Linked DNA regions of Homo sapiens: region 2 is linked to region 1. The links are contacts of gene promoters, found by promoter capture Hi-C in human tissues and cell types (Jung and others, 2019). All regions are on one chromosome and are shown on one strand. The core of a region is centred on a gene start or on the middle of the fragment in contact, and the rest is flanking DNA. Distances in the headings are between cores, read along the strand shown.

Region 1 (3,072 bases), core at 395-2,894:
AACTTTTCAATTGGTGTAGCTTTTATAAGAAACATGCAGATCACATTGATCATATATAATATTTAAAAATATACTTCATTCACTACTTTTTGTCTATCAAATGTGATATAATCACATTAATAATTTTCAAAACAGGATGATGTTAGTCATACGGGAAATCTTTTGGAATTCTGGCACTGTATATTGAGAATTCTTATAAAAATTGAGACTATGATGAAATATTGTGTTTTATTTAAAAATGGATTATAGTCCAAAAGAATTTCCCTAAGTTATGGAAATTAAATCTGGGTAGTACTAAGTCATAAATATAACAACATATTTATCTATTTCCAATTGCTCTAAAAGACACAGAAGCAAAATCCTCAGTATTCATAAATGTTATACACCAGGATAAAGGCATCACACATAATGATTGTATTTGACCATCTTTGGAATGGAAAGGAAGCCCAAACATCAAACCTGATGACTAAACCATTTAGGTGCGATAAAGAGTCCAGTTCATACTTTAGAAAGCTGAGTTAGTATTTTATTTTTCTCCCAAAGCATATATCTGCCTTTATAAGAACCAACCAACCGTATGAATGAGAACTGGAGTCAAGGTTAAAGTAATCTTGCCCAAGAGAGTAGAGTGTGTTTGCATCGGAAAGAAGCAGCGGCTCAGCTCAGATGAATATTAATAACAACCGGAGGCAGCACCTCCCCTGAAAAACATTAGAGCTCCTTGGACATGTGTTTGAAATTCATCCTCCCAAGTCATCCTGTGACTATTGGAGTAGATGGCAATGTCCCATAATGTGAAGGGGGAAAATACACTATAAATCGTTTTTTAAATATAACACTTTAAAAAATGAAACGAAAGTGACAGAGTGTTCTAAGTCAAGCAACCTTTTCAGATGGTAAAGGAAAAGCTTTGTCTTTCCTATTATTGTTTGCCCTTCAGTTGACATACATGCTGAGATGCATCAATAGGATTACAACGGAAACACGGTCATCTCTAGGGTTTCCTCTGTTTCGATTCCTTGATCCTGTTTAAAGAAACAGGCTCAGGGAATGCACAGAAAACAAACTTCCCCAATCGAAGTTCTGAGGTCTTCCCTCCCCTTCTCCCACCTTCGGAAACCGGTCTAGTTTTCCCGGCAGCACCGGACAGAAATGTCACGGTCATGTTGCATCACTTCACTTGTTGAGCTGTGCGAAGGCAGCACTTGACCACAGAAACTTGGTGAACCGCCTTGCTCTTAAATTAGCCCCCAAGAATTCTCTCCAGCCCTATAGAAATGTCTTACCTGCATGTGTCCCTGGTACATTCTGCTTCGGTTTCTTCAGGGCTCCCTGAGGCCACCGGATGCTTTTCCCCCGTGCTTACTTGCCCACCAAAAGAGGGGAAAAGGTGGGTGCACAGCGGGTTCTCAGAGGGTGCTCCTGAGCCCCCTGGAGCTCCGGGTACTCGGCCGGCCGGCGGCCACTCGGCAGCGCTGCGGGCTGCCGGGAACTGTTCTCCGCTCGGGGTGCTGAAAGCGGACGCGGGAGAGCGCGCAGAGAAGGCGAGGAGCCGGGTCGGCCAGGCTCTCCTGCAGGCGCGGGTCCTGCTCGCGGGGCGTCTCTAGAACTCACTCCTTCTTCGCCGAACTCTTTCTCGCTTCCTGCCAGGTTGCCTCATGTCTCTCTCTCTCTGAGCTGCGAACCCCCTCCTCCCAGCCCTGACGTGAGCGCCTACACCAGCCGCCGCCGCAGCTGCCGAGCGGGGCGCGCGCCGTTCTCCCAGCCGCGTGCCTGCCGAGAGGCCGCGGGACCGGGCACGCGCGCGCGTTCCCAGGGGCCTGGGAGCGGCCCGAGGGCGGCCCCGGGCGGTGCGCGCTCCCCGAGCGCGTCCTCGGGGCTGCGCGCGCGCGGCGGCAAGGCGAGGTGCCGGCAGGCGGTGGTCGCGCTGGTGTACAACGCCCGCAGCAGCGCGGCGTTCAGGTGCGGCGTCGGCGGGCAGGGCGATTCTAGCGGAGAGGATGGCCGGCCGGAAGAAAGGCGGGAAGACATGCATCGTCTCTCCGGGGGCCATCCACCGCGGCTGAGCCTGTTATCCTACAGACATTATAGGCTGAGTGCAGGGGTTGCCGAAGAGTTTACTTCGGTTCTGATTCAGCTCTCGAAAGTTACGTCCGTATCACCCGTTAAATAAAGACTCCCCGCTCCCCTCATCCCCAGTTCATCGCCGAGCATTCTATTTAAAACGGCAAACCCTAGTCCCTGAGGATCTGGCATGTTTTATTTTTTTCCCTAGCACGTAACATCACCTAACATCCTTTATATTTTCCATATTTATTTTATGTACTGTCTGTCTCTCCCTCTGTACAATGTTATTTCCATGAGATCAGGGACTTTTTTTTAGGGGGGTGGAGTGTTGCACTTGGTTTTGCACGTGTGTGCACAGTAAGGTATTTAGTACTTCCTGACACATGGCAGGCACACAATAAATATTTGCTGAATGAATAGACCTTTACTACTATACACTTACACACACATACACACATATATGAAGAGTGCATTTAAATATGTCTCAAGTTGAGACTGGGTAGTTTGATGTGTCTACACAATAAATGTTCATATATACACACACACCACGGGGTGGTGTATACTGTGATTACCTAATTTTGTTGGTAAAAACATCTCCAATTCTACAGGCCCCTCATATTATGTACAGCATGATATCCCCAAAATATTGCATATAGCATAATATGCTTTTTATAAAGTTTAAAAAATCCCTAGAAATGTCAATGTGTATTCATATATTCATATACAACAATATAAAAAGGAAAGCAGTGGAACAATGAATATAGTGTTCAGAGTGTTGGTGACCCTGGGTGAAGGGAGGCAGGGAAATAGATGGGGAAGCATTTCACTTGAAGTTTAGATGTTAATGTCTTATCTTCTATGCCGGGTAGTGATTCATAGGACACCTAATATCCTATTAAAAATTACTGTGTAACTAAATAAAATAGAACCATGTATGGACTAATGAGGAGAATGTGAAATGAACAAAAGGATGTGAAATGAACCAATTCAATGCATCTGAGGTCC
Region 2 (3,072 bases), core at 371-2,870, 81 kb after region 1:
TTATGGGTCAAATTCACCCCTGGGTAAGAGTTGCCCCCATCTGAAAATCCCAAGGTGTGTCAGAACCGTGAACAGAGGGCTGAACTTTATAAAGCTTGAGCCAGTTTGCTTTTATTAAACTCATTACTGTGTACCACTCATTTATTTTAAAAAATGTTTTTAAAGTGAGGTAGTTTCTAAAAAGAATACAGAATAACTGTCTTTGTTGTCTAATTCAGAGCTCTTTACTGAGAATTCTCTTTATTTTAACTTTTTATTTACATATTTTTTGGTGTTTTGACGGGAGACACTAAAGGTAGACTGAGGTAAGGTAATCTGAGAACAGCTCTGAGGGAAATGGCGCCAAGGCCTGCAAGTCCCTACCGGGGCTTAGATCTGTTTCAGTGAAACAGCTTTGCTCTCATACACAGCTGTATCAATTACACTGATTTGAAAGAAACAAAACACCTTTTGTGCTTGTCTTCCTCTGGGTTCTTTTTCATTCTTGCCAGAATTCTTTCTCCATAAGAATAATAGCGAAGATTTGCTTTGCAAAACTCTGTGCTCAGAGCTGGAAGTGGGGGTTGAGAGAAAACAGGAATTTGATTCTGATTTTTTTTTTTTTATCATGTAGTAGGCTGAGATTTTCTCCGGTGTGATAAAAAATAAAATGAGGCCAGATGGTAGTTGTTTATGGGTTCTGAAGTAAAAGTATTAAGTCATTAAAATTGGAGACTTCTCTCATTTATGCCAGCTTCTTCTTCTCATTAAATCCATGTTTTATGTGGATGAAGGTGCAGAGAGAGGATGTCTGGGCAGCAGATCCATATGCTTCCTTGCATTGGGCTCTGGCAAAGCACTTCTTTGCTCCTCTCAGATCTCCAGCCTGGAGTGAATGTAAAGGAATGTGTTTTCCCGAGAGGATTCTGGAAAGGTGCATACCAGTCCCTGTGCTTACAGCTTTCTTGTTGATGATAGGAAAAGGTTATCTATTCCCAGCTGTGAGGTGTTTCAAATCTGAATATACTCTGAGGTCCATTTTTTCGGTGTAGACTTTTCTGAGGACTCCTTCAAGAACAGCTTATTTTCATTGATGGATATAAGAGGGACATTTTCCAGGGTAATGAATCCTAAATGGAGATGCTCAAAGTTGGTTTGAAAACTGCTGGCTGATGTTATCTGTAAAAAAGAAACGATGACATTGTCCTGCTGTCAGGTTTTTAGAGGATAAAATCAATACAGTCCCTCCATGCTGCTGGGAGAAATGTACACCAGGTTGGGACTTACCCTGCTATTTCATGTAACTCTTGTCATATAAATAACCCCAGAGTTAAGCAAACAGCTTGTCTTAAAAAGTTCTAAGGTATAGGTTCCATTTTGTCAAGGAACAGTTTTTTTCTTGTTCAGCCCACACTAGTTCTCATGTGGTAGTTAAGTTTACAGGGAATTAGACTGATTGGGTTTGAATTTAGGTTTAAGTCCTAACTCCTTCTACTCACCAACCACGTGAACTTGGATAATTACTCTACACTTCTAAGCTACAGTTTCCTCATCTGTAAAATGGTGATATCAATAGCTGTTACCTCATAAAGTCCAGAGGCTAAATTGAGCAATGCATGTAAATGTATTTTTACAGTTCCTGGCCTGTGGTTCCTGGCTCTTGATAAGAAATATTCATCTTAAATAATGATATCTATCTAATCTTCACCACTTCTGATAAAGAATCCTTTACAGGAAACCTACCAAAATAGATGAGAAGGCTTCAGAAATCACCCGGTGAATTCAGAGCCTCCATGGGGAAATTCAACGGCCAGCTGCTTTTTATAATTGATGAGAAACAGGAGTGTTGTGTCAAGCTGCAGAGCTCTCCCCAACAACATGGTGTGGCTGCATGTCAAGGACCCCACACTGTCCCCCACAGCGTGGTGTGACCGCATGTCAAGGACGCCACACTCTCCCCCACAGCATGGTGTGGCTGCCATGCCAGGGACCCCACACTGTCCCCCACAGCGTGGTGTGGCTGCCATGTCAGGGACCCCACACTCTCCGCCACAGTGTGGTGTGGCTGCCATGTCAGGGACCCCACACTCTCCCCCACAGCGTGGTGTGGCTGCCATGTCAGGGACCCCACACTCTCCCCCACAGCGTGGTGTGGCTGCCATGTCAGGGATCCCACACTCTCCCCCACAGCGTGGTGTGGCTGCCATGTCAGGGACCCCACACTCTCCCCCACAGCATGGTGTGGCTGCATGTCAGGGACCCCTGTGCTGTGATGCTAAGTAGAGCTTGGTGTTGGAGGGGCAGGAATTGGGATGAGGAAGAGTTGTGGGAGACTTTCATTGTTTTGGGAGAAGAATCCCCTCCTAGGTCTATCTCATTCTTTTTAAAAAATTAGTTTCCACTTTTTCTTGGAAATCTAGATCTGAACAGAGGCCTAACTCATTCTTAATCTAGTGTTCTGGGACAAACAGAGAGTGAGGGAGAAAACACACACACACACACACACACACACACACACACACACACACAGCGGAAAAGGAAGTCCACCAAAGCCTTGGGGAGCCTCTTTTATATTGAGATGAGGAAAGACCATGGACAGACTTCTCACTGCAGAATTTTACTGAAGCCTTCTTTCAGCATTTCTCAGTTCCAAAATGCATACTCTGAGTTTTCAGAGCCTCTGAACCTTGTTCCCTTATTTAAAAATTTTACCTCTAAAAGCACACAAGTGCTTGCATTCCATCGATTCTAAAAATAAAATGTAATTATATGTACAATATAGGAAAACATTTTTGGAAAAAATAACGTATGTAGGGAAAGCTTCCCTTTATCGCCACCCAGAAACTAACCATGTACATATATGCACATATATGGTTTGTTTGTCAGTAATTTGTGATAGGAATGGGATCATAGTATACATATTTTTCTGTAATTTTTTTCACTTACCAATATATCTATAAGATTTCCAAGACAGTACATATATATCTAATTTATTATTTTCAACTGTTACATAGTATTCCATAGTATAAACAGCTGATAATTTAAGAATTTCCTCTATTGATGATTATATTTGGTTTTTAATAGTTTACTATT

What was found. Contacts are between HindIII fragments. The study calls those that stand out against the background at their distance.
Region 2: a contact is called between a fragment that was not itself captured here and the fragment with the promoter of PEX5L in region 1, in 2 of the 25 tissues and cell types used here (hippocampus and pancreas).

The regions. Positions count from the first base shown.
Region 1 is chr3:180,035,293-180,038,364 of GRCh38, forward strand. PEX5L (peroxisomal biogenesis factor 5 like) reads right to left here and starts at 1,645. Exons shown (of 15, transcript NM_016559.3): 1 at 1,287-1,645. The coding sequence starts at 1,307. RefSeq lists a silencer at 1,711-1,760. The HindIII fragment of the contact is 6,291 bases long and covers 186-3,072 here.
Region 2 is chr3:180,115,988-180,119,059 of GRCh38, forward strand. No RefSeq gene overlaps it. Among named protein-coding and RNA genes, the nearest start is that of PEX5L, 81 kb to the left of the region's middle. The HindIII fragment of the contact is 6,221 bases long and covers 1-3,072 here.